Regions from separate parts of the Homo sapiens genome. Here regions 1, 2 and 3 are each linked to region 4. The links are contacts of gene promoters, found by promoter capture Hi-C in blood cells and fetal thymus (Javierre and others, 2016). All regions are on one chromosome and are shown on one strand. Each heading gives the region's core, a stretch centred on a gene start or on the middle of the fragment in contact. The rest is flanking DNA. Distances are from core to core; before and after follow the strand shown. Region 1 has its middle 30 kb from the start of NALF2. Region 2 has its middle 37 kb from the start of NALF2. Region 3 overlaps NALF2 (NALCN channel auxiliary factor 2). Region 4 holds the start of OTUD6A (OTU deubiquitinase 6A).

Region 1 (3,146 bases), core at 411-2,910, 590 kb before region 4:
TTTGCAGTCCAGTCACTCTTGCACGTCCAGCCCCATAGCTGGAATGACTTTTTTTAACATGTAACTCAGACCATGCAAGTCCTCTATTCCATTCCTTTCAATGGATTCCTATCCCTCAAGAAATTAAATCTAAATTTCTTACCATGTCCTTTCAATGCTGTTTGTGTTCTGAATCTTGCCACCTTGTAGCATGTGTTCCTTTATCAATACTATGTTTTAGCCACACTGGCCTCCTTTGTATTCACTAAGCCCTTCAAGCCCTTTACCACCTGTTATTGTTTCTTCTGCTTGGCATCCTCTTCCTCAATTATAATTACATCACTAGCTTGTCACCTTTCAGGTCTCAGCTTAAATGCAACTCCCTCAGAGAAGTCTTCCCTGTCTACCAAAAACGGACTCCCATAATTACTCTTTCTTTCTCAGGGTATCCCTAAGTACCCTGTTTCTTTCCTTCCCAGCCATCATCTCATTTATTTATTTATTTGCATACATACACCATCTGTCTGCAATGCCTGTCTCACTCAGTTGACTGTAGTCTCCATGGTAGAAAGATCATGAATCTTTTGCTTCCCATTGTATCTGTGGTGCCTGCCACCTAGCATTCAATAAATATTTGTTGAATGACTTAATTATGCATAAACATACCTAGAAGAGTGTCTGGCATATAACATGTGTGCAATAAATATTAGTTTCATCTGCCAACCCCTATCTTACTTTCCTCAACATCATAAAGGAAATATTGAAAAACCCATAGCTAACATCATACTCAATGGTAAAAGTTTGGAAGCTTTTCCTTTAAGATCAGGAATAAGGAAGAAATGCCCACTTTTACCACTTCTATTTAACATAATATTGGAAGTTCTGGCCAGAGCAATTAGGCAAAAATAAATAAATAAATAAATAAATAAAAGGCATCCTCATTGGAAAGGAAGGATTAAAATTATCTCTTTCACAGACAACATGATCCTGTATGTAGAAAACACTAAAGATTCCAGAAAAGAAAACTGTTAGAACTAATAAATAAATTCAGCCAAGTTGCAGAACACAAAATCAACACACAAAATATTAGTTGCATTTTGTCAACTAGGAAGGAACAATCCAAAAAGGATATTAAGAAGTAATTCCAACTGGACGCAGTGGCTCATGCCTATAATCCCAGCACTTTGGGAGGCCCGAGGCAGGTGGATCACCTGAGGTCAGGAGTTCAAGACCAGTCTGACCAACATGGAGAAACCCTGTCTCTACTAAAAATACAAAAATTAGCCAGGCGTGGTGGCGCATGCCTGTAATCCCAGCTACTCGGGAGGCTGAGGCACGAGAATTGCTTGAACCTGGGAGGCAGAAGTTGCAGTGAGCCAAGATCGCACCATTGCACTCCAGCCTGGGCAACAAGAGTGAAACTCTGTCTCAAAAAAAAAAAGTAATTCCATTTACAATAGCGTTGAAAAGAATAAAATACTTAAGAATAAATTTAACCAAGAAGTCAAAAGCCTTGTAAATGAAAACTACAAACACTGCTGAAAGAAAACATAAATAAATAGCAAGACATCTGGTTATCATGGATTGGAAGATTTAAGATTAAGATGACAATAATACTCAAAGCTATCTACAGATTCAATGCAATCCTCATCAAAAATCCTAATTGAGGTTTTTTTTCACATAAATAGAAAAACCCATCCTAAACTTCATATGGAATCTCAAGGGACCCCAAATAGTCAAAACACCCTTGAAAAAGAAGGAAAAAAGTCAGAGGACTCACACTTTTTTTTTTTGAGACAGGGCCTTGCACTGTCACCCAGGCTGAAATGCAGTGGTGCAATCATGGCTGACTAAAGCCTCAACCTCCTGTGCTCGAGATCCTCCCACCTAAGCCTCCCTGAGTAGCTAGGACTACAGGTATGTGTCACCATGCTCAGCTAATTTTTAAATTTTTTATAGAGACAGTGGTCTCACTATGTTTCCCAGGCTGGCCTAGAACACCTGGCCTCAAGTAATCCTCCTGCCTCAGCCTCCCAAAGTGCTGGGATTACTTGTGTGAACCACTGCCCAGCTGTCTCACACCTCTGGATCTCAAAACTTACTACAAATCTACAATAATGAAAACAGTATGGTACTGACATAAGGACAGACATATAGATGAATGGAATAGAATAGAGAGCCCAGATATAAACATTCACCTATATAGTCAACATTTTATTTTTGACAAAGGTACAAAGACCATTCAATGGGGGAAAGAAATACCTTTTCAACAAATGGTGGTAGGAAGACTGAATATCTACATTTAAAAGAATGAAGTTGGATCCTTACTCAGCACCGTATACAAAAATTAATTCAAAATGGATCAAATACCTGTACATAAGATCTAAAACTATAAAATTCTTAGAACACATGGGACATTGGATGTGGCATTTGATATGACAACAAAAACACAGGCAACAAAAGAAAAAAATAGATAAATGAGGCTTCAACAAATCAAAAACTTTTGTGCATCAAAGGACACTAACAAAAGAAAAGACAACCCACAGAATGAAAGAAAAGCTTTACAAATCATGTATCTGATAAGGAATTAATATTCAGAATATATAAAGAACTTCTACCATTCAATAACAGAAGAAACAAACAACCCAATTTGAAAATGGGCAAATAACTTGAGTAAAACATTTCTCCAAAGAAGATGTACAGATGGCCAACAATCATATGAAAAGATGCTCAACTTCACTAATTAGAGAAATGCATATTAAAACCACAATGAGAGACCATTTTACACCCATTAGGGATGACATTATTTTTAAAAATGTGAAATAACAAATGTTAGCAAGCATGTGGATAATTGGAACCCTCTTGCATTACTATTGGGAATGTAAAATGGTGCAGCTACTGTGAAAAAACAATTTGATCGTTCTTAAATGTAGAGTTACCATGTGAACTGGCAATTTCACTCCTGAGTATACTGAAAAGCACTGAAAGCAGGGACTCAAACAGATACTTGTACACCAAGGTTCATAGCAGCTTTATTCACAATAGCCAAAATGTGCAAACAACTCAAGTGTCCATCAACACATGAATGAATGAACAAAATGTGGTAAATACATAAAATTGAATATTGTTCAGCCTTAAAAAGAAATTAAATTCTGATGCATGTTATA
Region 2 (3,217 bases), core at 33-2,532, 520 kb before region 4:
TGTTCCCAGGATCTGTCCTCTCCTGCCATCTCCTTGTTCCCTCTTCTCCTCTGTCTTGTCCCCTCATGACCCTCCTGCTGGTACAGGAGGCAGGAGGCTTTATTCTCAACGAGCACACAGCATCCTGCCACAAAGTGCTTGATGACATGCATGACCAGGCTTCTCTGTAATATCGAGTTTCACTTTCAGCACTTGGGTTGGTTTTTTGTTTTTGTTTTTCTTGAGGAACCTGCTATTCACAGATACTAAGACTGTAGGTAGCCGTTCTTGAGGAAAGGTCAGAGACTCCTATATTGATCTTAGCCTTGTTGAACCCAGAACACAAACCTGAAAATTAACATGGAAAAGCATACAGGTGAAGAGGAAAATTGCAAAGGTAGATTTATTGGCAGACAAACACTGATGGTTAATTTCAAGATGCCCTGGGCCCTTGGACTCCTGGAATCAATGCCCAGGGTCAGATATGGCTCATTTGTGGCCTAGTGGACAAAAGAGCTTGGAATGAAAGACACAGCCCTGAGAAGGCTGGGATAAGAGGAAGAGACAGTTCCTCTTCCCTGGCTCCATCTTGGGGTAACTTCCTCTGGGAAATGACAGCTTCCTGTCCCCCAAATTAGCTCTGCTGCTTAGAATACCCTTTTCCACTTGTACTGCATGTATACATACACACAGTGTCTTGCTAATCCTCACAATAACCATGCACAGTAGAAATTAATTTAGGTTTACAGATTAAAAAAACTGAGGCTTGAGGAGGCCAAAAGATCCACTCACCCAAAATAAACAAGCAAAATGCAGAGCAGAAGGCCAGGAATAGAAGCCAAGAACTCCAACTCTAAGACCAGTGCCAGCAGCTTTCCATCCATGGTTTCATGATCTGTTGAAGATCCAAAGCTAGGTCAACTGGCCCCAGCCCTGTACCCTCACCCTGTTCTCAAGAGTGATTGAAAAAGCAGGCAATGTGACTGAAGCCAGGTGAAGGGCTTTCACCTGGCTCCTGGGCCATGCTGACACCTGGCCTGGCTCTGAATGATGGCAGGGGAACTCAGTCAATGTTGAGGTTTGCAGGACCATCAGAGCAACAGCCAGCCTCATGCCAAACCCTTTCTAATGTAGAAGTCTCCACCTGGAGCTTCCAGAGCTATTTTGTTTAACTTGGCAGTGTTGATCTATTCAGTATTTAAATTTGAGTTGGGTTTCCTCTATAAGAGGTTGTATAGTGTAGTCATTAACAACATAGCTTAGGTTTGCATCCTGCCTCTGTCACTTGTTCTCTGTGACTCTGGGAAGGTTACTTAAACTCTCTGTGCTTCATCTTGCTCATCTGTAAAATGGAGATTTAAAAAATAGTACTCTACCTCATAGGGTTACTATGAGTGTTGAGTTATATCTAAAGCTCTTAGAATAGTATCTGACACATAGTAAATGCTATGTGTTTGTTATTACTATTATTATTATATACAAATTGGGGAGAATTCACATAAAACTCAAATTTCTCACTTCCCCTTAAATATTCAGAAGATCTGACAGCCCTGGATCTCCACTGTTGCCTAGAATGGAATCCGCCCTCTTCAGGTGGGATGTGCTCTTTCCTGGTCAGCCTCAGTCCTGTAAATTCCCATTTGGTCCCTGACACTGAAGCCAGGTGTCACTTGCCATTTGTCATCTTACATGCAGCTAGCTACGTGGGTTTTCATTATCTTCCTGGCCTCTAAAACCAGTCTGTCATCTCTCACCACTGCTTAAATGGTACAAGGGGCAAGGAACATCATGAAGCAGAAATTGTCAGCCAATGGGGACATCTCAAGAGATCCCTACCAGGCCAGTCAGAAACCTTTGCCTGCCTTCTCTTTAATGTCCCAGAATGGCACTTAGTCACACCAACTTGAAGGTCAAGAGAAGCAGCAAAGATGGTAAAGGGAGGCAAAATGAGGCCATGGCATTCCAGAGCATCCTCTCCTGCAGCCCCAAAGTTGGGTTTAAAATTTGGCTCAAGGACTCAATAGTAATAACAATTCTAGTAAGATACACTCACATCTCTGCCAAGTGATGTATGTACAGCATCATGAATAATAGAAACTATTAGAAAGAACTGAAATGTCATCAATTTGACACATACCTACAGTGGAATACTATGTGATCATTAAAAAGAACATGAAGAGTGGTGTGTACGATATGCTTCCATTTCTGTAGGAAGGGGAAAAGGGAAATATAAACACGCACACATGTACTTGCTTATATTTGTATTTGTATAGAATATCTCTGGAAGGATGTCTGAATATAGTGTAGACGTAAAATATCTATGGAAGGATAAGTCAAGAAATTGGTGACCAGTGCTGCCTCTGGGGAAAAGAATTGTGTAGCTGGGAGAGAAAGAAGACATGCTTTTTTTTCAATATATACCTTTGTATTTCTTTTGAATTTTACACCATGAATCTAAGTGAAAAAAAAAATCTTGTTTTAATAAATCCTGCAGTAGATACAAAAGGAACAAAAAAACCAATTCCAGTATCCCTCCTAAGACAACCTGAAGTCACAGACAAGTTGAATCACAATCAAGGCTGCACAGGAAACAACCTGGAGTCTGCAGTACCCCAGCCTTTCATTTGCAGTCATTTACACAGTCGTCATTCTATGTCCAAGTGTACATAAATCGTGTTTACTCTGCTTCTTCTTGCCTGGGCCATCTCCTCTATTCTGCTCAGGCTGGCTACATTCAAGCTCTAAAAATTCCTCGTTTGGGCTGCCTTCTTGGCACCCAGAAGTTCAGCCTTCTGGGGATTGTGGCTAAAGTGAAAAGAAGTTTGGCAACAGCAGTGCACCCAAAGACCAGGTCTTAAACCCTCCTTCTCCGAAAGTGCTTCTCCCAGTTATCTGGAGAGGGATCTCTGAAGTGGGCAGAGCCCTTGCATCTGTGTATGGCACCCTGCCAACCAAGGCCCACCTCCATTACCTGACCAAAGACCCCTTATTCAATTCAACAGCTTTAAAAATAAACCCTACCCTGTGCAAAGCTCCAGGCCAGGTGTAAAGATCCTGGGGTGCTGGGGACACCAGGAAAAGGAGACAGAGTGCCTGTCCTCTAGAGATACATAGTCTAGATTTGGAAAAAGTCTGAGTTGGGAGAAATGTGGGGGGATAACTGAGGTGATGGTTTTCACCCAGAATTCTGTGGTGCCCTCGGGCTTTACAGAAGAGCTTCGGGAGTTCTGCAAAGGTC
Region 3 (3,361 bases), core at 263-2,762, 540 kb before region 4:
AGGCCCCTTCAGAGCTGCTCCTACATTAGGAACACTGTTTCTCCACTGGACCAACCCTGTCCAGGCTGGGCCCATCCAGCCACTGGCCTTTGAGCAGATGGCCCAAGAGGCTTGGTGGTGGGAGAGCTTTCTGGAACTGCACTGGCTCTAGGTTCTCACCCTCCTCTCTGGCCATCTCCCCTGCCTTTCCTTCAGGCCATGCCACTTTGACTCATGACTGCTCAGTTTGAGAAGCAGGACAGCTGTTGCTTATTTTTACAGCCACTTAAGTAGAACCCTATTATCCACCTGGATTTGCCCTTTAATGCATCTAATCCCAGTCTGATTCTACCAATCCCAGTGAACTACTGTCCCCAGAGTTATGTCCATGATCTCCTTCCTCTGGTTGAGGAGACTGATTTTGACCTAACCCTGTTCTGATCCAACTTTTGAAAGCCCAGAGTCGGGACTAGGAGCACTTGGCTCTTTTCAGACCCTGCCCGAGGGGGTTCCTCACACACTTCTCTGTGTGCTGATGGATGCAGTACAAAGAGGCATCAGGTTAGCAGTCAGGTTGCCTCCCTTCTAATCATGGCTTATAGTTGATTTCTTGCATGCCTCTGACTTGGCTAAGCCAACCCTCTTCTTTGGGTCTCAGTTTCCCTATGGGTAAAATCTGGGAGCGGAGTGTACCGTGGTGTCTGTGGACAGTGGATTTCATCCCCATGTGTAGCTCACATTGCTGCTTTGCCTCCACAGGCTCTGCGGCTGCAGCTCCAGCTGCTGGCCAAGGGCCCCAAGGGTACATTAGGAAGACAAGCAGCCCTGGAGAGAAGGCCTATAGGGAGGATTTGGATGGGGAAACAGGCCCCAGGGATGGAAGCAAGTTAGAATCCATGAAGGAAACTGCTTACTTCCTGGTTGGCAAGAACTAAAGCTCTCCTCCCTGGAGGGCTTTTCAGCCCCAGAACCAAGGAGCTCGGTATGGCCTCCGCTTTCTAAACTTTCTGGCCCTGAGTCCTGGCTTTGGGATGTAAAAGTCTTCTTTCTAGAGGAGAGTGGGGATGATGATGCCCTGGCCAGGGCTGCAAGCGCCAGAGCCAGAGGGTAAGGCTCTCTGGGTCCTCCCTAGATTGGCAACTGCAGAGCCCAGGAGGGGTGGTGACACCTCTCATCTTGCCCCTCCCATTTCTGGAGTGCTCTGCAGCCCAGCTGGGAGGAGGGATGGGACAGCCTTCGCAGCTTCCTTTTTGGGTTAATTGGTGTTCCCTCTAGTTATTTCCTGCTCCCTTCCCCTCCCAGTTCCCATAGCAACTGGGCTGTAGCAGCCAGAACTTGATTGAGCCCAGCAGTGGCCCGACTGAGGTGGGGAAAGGAGGGCACTGCCAGGTCAATGCTTCCCACCCCACCCATCCCCCGCTGCCATCTCAAGGGTTCAGGATGGTTAAGCCCAGAGGACAGGGCATAATTGGAAAGCCTTTTATGCCAGGGCTAGAGTTTGAAGAGTCTAACATGCCAGAGCAGGCCTGGTTCTCCTCAGCTCTCCTCCCCTCCCCATGCCCTGTGTCCTGCCTCTTAAATTTTGAATTCACTGTTGCTGGTAGGATTGTTCAGTAGGAAGAACCCTGGAGTTGGAGGTGGGAAACCAGGTTTCCAGTTCCTCCCAAACCGATGGTTCTCAACCGTGGCTGCATACTAAAATTGCCTGAGGTATTTTGAAAAACTACAGATGTGTAGGCTCCACCCACAAGGATTCTGACTTAGTTGGTCTGGATGTGATGTGAGCCAGACAGGAGTATTTTTTTTCTTTTTTTTTTTTTTTTAGACAGGGTCTCACTGTGTTGCCCAGGTTGGAGTGCAATGGTGTGATCTCAGCTCACTGCAACCTCCTCCCCCTGGGCAAAGGTGACCCTCCCACCTCAGCATCCTAAATAAGTGGGATCCAAGGTGTGCACCACCACACCCAGCTATGTTTTTATGTAGAGACAGGGTTTCACCATGTTGTCCAGGCTGGTCTAGGACTCCTGGACTCAAGCAATCCACCAGCTTCAGCCTCCCAAAGTGCTGGGATTACCATCATGAGCCACCGCATCCAGCCCAAGACAGGAGTATTTTTTGGAAGCTCTTTGAGTGATTGTGATATGCAGCCAGAGTTGAGATCCTGGAGAACAAAAGAGCTCCGTAGTTCACCCAGAACTGACTGTTATCTTGTTCTGAGACATTTCTTCCCTTTCCCTGCATCCCTTGCCTCCAGCAAGCCCCACAACTCTCCTAAGCCGGGCCCTCCTGGCTTTCCTCCATCCTTGTAGACAAGTGCCCAGGAACCTGTGAATGCCCAAACAACCTCCCCCGTCAACCCCTGGCTCAGTCCTAACACTAGTGAAACAGGGCAAGCTACCTAGGTCCATCTAAGAAACAGGGCTGCAGAGTCTAAGGCAGGCTTGTTGCCCAAGCTGTAACAAACACTGAGAGCCAGATCTTTCACCTGAGAAGGACCCCAGGCTACCTCTGAGGCATGAGGGATAGCAATGGCCTCCGCTGGCCGGCTGTGGGGCTGAGGAATTGGATTACCTCTGAGCCCCACATCACTCTTCTTCCTCCATTCCCCTCATTAGCTCCTTGCCTGTTCCTGCCTCGCCACCCACAGGCCTGGTGTCCTCCCCAAGCAATCTGCTCACCCACTTGTTGTCATGGTGACTCTGGCTGGGGGTGTGGGGACTGAGTGGGGAGGTCGTCTAATTAAGGAGAAAGGCCACACTCCCAATGTCAGGCCACCCCTCCCCCTTCCCCAACCTACCCTGGCTGGCTCCCTCCATTCCTCCCTCCAGGAGCAGATGACGGGAGCGCCCAGCCACCATAGCCTGTTACTGGGCTAATTGCAGTTGCCTGGGAGGAGGGCAGGAACTCCACTGGGGCCTCCTCACCTAGGAGCTGGAACACTGAACTAGAAGAGCCCAGAGAGAATTCCACAGGGACCTCTGAGTCACACTGATGGATGCAGGGTTGGGAGGGGGCCGATTGCACACATTTTGGGGTGAGGGTGAGGCAGGCTCTGGGTCCAGGCTACAGACATTGAGGCAGAGCCTATGGACAGAGACTCATCTTGGCACTCTGGGGCTCAAAAGATGGAGGGAAGTCTCTAAGGTACTGGGACCCTTAGTTCTTGTAATTTCATGTTCTTTCCTGCCTTACTTCTGTTTCTTTCTCCTCCCCTTCTTGCGCTCTCTTATTCCTCTTTCTTAGCTTTGCTTTCTTACAGCCCCATCTCTCTTAGCCACTCTTATTCCATCTTATTCACCCCCGCTTGTTCTTACCCATCTTTCTTACTCCCTCTTTCTTACCGCTTCCTCTTAACAGCTCCGCTTACCCCTATCTCACCCTC
Region 4 (3,334 bases), core at 202-2,701:
ACTTGAGCCCAGACTGGAGTGCAGTGCCGCTATCTTGGCTCACTACAACTTCTGCTTCCCAGGCTCAAGCTATCCTCCCACCTCAGCCCCCAGGAGTAGTTGGGACTACAGGCACACACCACCACACCTGGCTAATTTTTGTATTTCTAGTAGAGTTAGGGCTTCACCATGTTGCCCAGGCTGGTCTGGAACTCCTGACCTCAAGACATCCTCCCACCTTGGCCTCCCAAAGTGCTGGGATTACAGGCGTGAGCCACCGCATCTGGCAAAAAAAAAAAAAAAAAAAAAATTCCCCAAAATTAGCCAAGTATGGTGGTGCCTGTAGTCCCAGCTACTCAGGATGTTGAGGCAGGAGGATCACCTGAGCCTGAGCCCAGGAGTTTGAGGCTGCAATGAGCCATGATCACGCCACTGCATTCCACCCTCGGTGACAGAGCTAGACTCCACCCCCCCCAAAAAAAAGAGAGAGAAAATAGGCAAATGACATAAACATTTTACTGAAAAGGATATGGCATAGATGACAAATGAGCACATGAAAAAAGGAACATCATTAGCCATCAGGGAACTTCACACTTATCAAAATGGCTAAAATAAAAACTTGTGACTGGGCACAGTGGCTCATGCCAGCACTTTGGGAGGCCGAGGCGAGTAAATCACCTGAGGTCAGGAGTTCCAAGACCAGCCTGGCCAACACGGCGAAACCTCGTCTCTACTAAAAATACAAAAATTAGCCGGGCGTGGTGGCAGGCGCCTGTAGTCCCGGCTACCCGGGAGGCTGAGGCAGGAGAATCGCTTGGACCTGGGAGGCAGAGGTTGCAGTGAGCTGAGATTGCACCATTGCACTCCAGCCTGGGCGACAGAGCGAGACTCCGTTCCCCGCGCCCCCCCCTCAAAAAAAGAGTAAACTGAAAGGACTGTGTTTGCAGGAATGTAAGGAAATGTCCTTGTTCTGATGCACAAGTTAATGGTTCCCTGGTGAAGGGACCTGAAAGACTGGAGAAAAACGCACTGCTTCCTCAACAGTAGGGGCAATGCCAAGTCCAGGGTTAGAGCACATTCAGCGGTGTAGTATCTGTCATGTGGCTGTCAGGCATGGCTACTGCCTGCATTGTGTGCAGACTTGGAAATGAAGTCGGCTCTCAATCAGCGAAAGACTCTACAGGCCCAACTGCCACACACATTGCAGGAAGGCCATATTTGAATCCCGCCAAAAACCTTTGCTGTGGGGTCCAATGGGCTCATACTTCCGGTCTCCCAACAGCCAATCCTAGCACTGGGCATTTGCGGGTGGCCCAGCAAGTGGCCTAGCACTTGCGGGGGCGTGGCCATGGAGACACAGTGACCAAAGGCAGAGAAGAATGCGAATGGGGGAGGGGAAGCGGAGGCTGAGGTGAGCCTAGAGCGGCGGTTAGAGCCGGTGAGGTGAAAGAGAGCGACCGTTAGGACAGGCTGAGGACTTCTGGTCTGTTCGGTACTTGAACTGCCAGCAAATTTCAACTCCCGCTTGCCATTCAACATCATGGATGATCCGAAGAGTGAACAGCAGCGCATACTGCGCCGCCACCAACGCGAGAGGCAGGAGCTGCAGGCCCAGATCCGGAGCTTAAAAAACTCGGTCCCCAAGACCGACAAGACGAAAAGAAAGCAGTTGCTCCAAGACGTGGCCCGCATGGAGGCCGAGATGGCTCAGAAGCACCGGCAGGAGCTGGAGAAGTTCCAAGACGACAGTAGCATTGAATCTGTCGTCGAAGACCTGGCCAAGATGAATCTGGAAAACCGGCCTCCCCGCTCCTCCAAAGCCCACAGAAAGAGAGAAAGAATGGAGTCCGAGGAGAGGGAGCGCCAGGAGAGCATCTTCCAGGCTGAGATGTCGGAGCACCTGGCCGGCTTCAAGCGCGAGGAGGAGGAGAAGCTCGCCGCCATCCTGGGAGCCAGGGGTCTGGAGATGAAAGCGATCCCGGCCGACGGCCACTGCATGTACCGCGCCATCCAAGACCAGCTGGTGTTCAGCGTGTCTGTGGAGATGCTGCGCTGCCGCACCGCCAGCTACATGAAGAAGCACGTCGACGAGTTCCTGCCCTTCTTCAGCAACCCCGAGACCAGCGACTCCTTCGGCTACGACGACTTCATGATCTACTGCGACAACATCGTGCGCACCACGGCATGGGGAGGCCAGCTGGAGCTGAGGGCCCTGTCGCACGTCCTGAAGACCCCCATCGAGGTGATCCAGGCCGACTCGCCCACCTTGATCATCGGGGAGGAGTACGTCAAGAAGCCGATCATCCTGGTCTACCTGCGCTATGCCTACAGCCTCGGCGAGCACTACAACTCCGTGACACCGCTCGAGGCCGGCGCCGCCGGGGGCGTGCTCCCGCGTCTCCTGTAGGCCCCAAGGCGCTGAGCAGCCCCGGGAAACTGTCGCCGTCGCCGCATCTCCTCAGTAGGCTCAGTTTATTTTCCCCTTTTGCTTTTCTCTGTTTTTCTTTTCCTTCCTTTTAATCAAAACTACCCGCCCCCGCCCCGCCCCCGCTTTCCTAACCTTGCTGCTTTCACAGGGTGGGAAACGAAATTCGAGGGAAATTCCCCGGAAATATGAGGGAAATCTCTGCATTGCACCACCAGAGGGGCATAAATTTGAAAGTTCTAACCTCTTCTTGCCCTTAAGGGTCTTTTACCTCCCTCACCAACTAAGATTTGGTCATGTTGCGTATAACTTCACCACAAAAATGGAAATATTGGCCGGGCGCGGTGGCTCACGCCTGTAATCCCAGCACTTTGGGAGGCCGAGGCGGGCGGATCACGAGGTCAGGAGTTCGAGACCAGCCTGGCCAACATGGTGAAACCCCACCTCTACAAAAAATACAAAAATTAGCCGGGCGTGGTGGCAGGCACCTGTAGTCCCAGATACTCGGGAGGCTAAGGCAGGAGAATCGCTTGACGGGAAGCGGAGGTTGCAGTGAGCCGAGATCGTGCCTTTGCACTCCAGCGTGGAAGACAGTGAGACTCCGTCTCAAAAAAATGAAAAATTAGCCAGGCAGGTTGGCGGGGGCCTGTAATCCTAGCTACTTGGGGTGCTGAGGCAGGAGAATCAACTGAACCCGGGAGGCGGAGGCTGCAGTGGGCCGGGATCGTACTACTGCACTCCAGCATGGAAGACAGCGAGACTCCGTCTCCAAAAAAAAAAAAAGAAAAAAAGGAAATGTTAAGTTTCATGTGTTCTGGGAAAAATAAATCTAGTAGACTAGCTCGGGGAGTCTTCAGGTTTTCCTATGAATGTCTTGGATTACTTAGACAAAATTGGAGTTTATGTGATCAAAATGCCTTGTGAAGGCCT

The links. Contacts are between HindIII fragments. The CHiCAGO score rates a contact against its expected background, and 5 or more counts as called.
Region 1: a contact is called between a fragment that was not itself captured here and the fragment with the promoter of OTUD6A in region 4, in 1 of 17 cell types (non-activated CD4 T cells). The highest score is 5.3, in non-activated CD4 T cells.
Region 2: a contact is called between a fragment that was not itself captured here and the fragment with the promoter of OTUD6A in region 4, in 2 of 17 cell types (M0 macrophages and M1 macrophages). The highest score is 6.1, in M0 macrophages.
Region 3: a contact is called between a fragment that was not itself captured here and the fragment with the promoter of OTUD6A in region 4, in 1 of 17 cell types (M0 macrophages). The highest score is 6.2, in M0 macrophages.

The regions. Positions count from the first base shown.
Region 1 is chrX:69,472,392-69,475,537 of GRCh38, forward strand. No RefSeq gene overlaps it. Among named protein-coding and RNA genes, the nearest start is that of NALF2, 30 kb to the right of the region's middle. The HindIII fragment of the contact is 1,751 bases long and covers 786-2,536 here.
Region 2 is chrX:69,539,513-69,542,729 of GRCh38, forward strand. No RefSeq gene overlaps it. Among named protein-coding and RNA genes, the nearest start is that of NALF2, 37 kb to the left of the region's middle. The HindIII fragment of the contact is 6,274 bases long and covers 1-3,217 here.
Region 3 is chrX:69,522,315-69,525,675 of GRCh38, forward strand. The region is part of intron 1 of NALF2 (NALCN channel auxiliary factor 2); the gene reads left to right. Among named protein-coding and RNA genes, the nearest start is that of NALF2, 20 kb to the left of the region's middle. The HindIII fragment of the contact is 6,171 bases long and covers 1-3,361 here.
Region 4 is chrX:70,061,006-70,064,339 of GRCh38, forward strand. OTUD6A (OTU deubiquitinase 6A) reads left to right here and starts at 1,452. Exons shown (of 1, transcript NM_207320.3): 1 at 1,452-3,174. The coding sequence starts at 1,520. The coding sequence ends at 2,386. The HindIII fragment of the contact is 21,287 bases long and covers 1-3,334 here.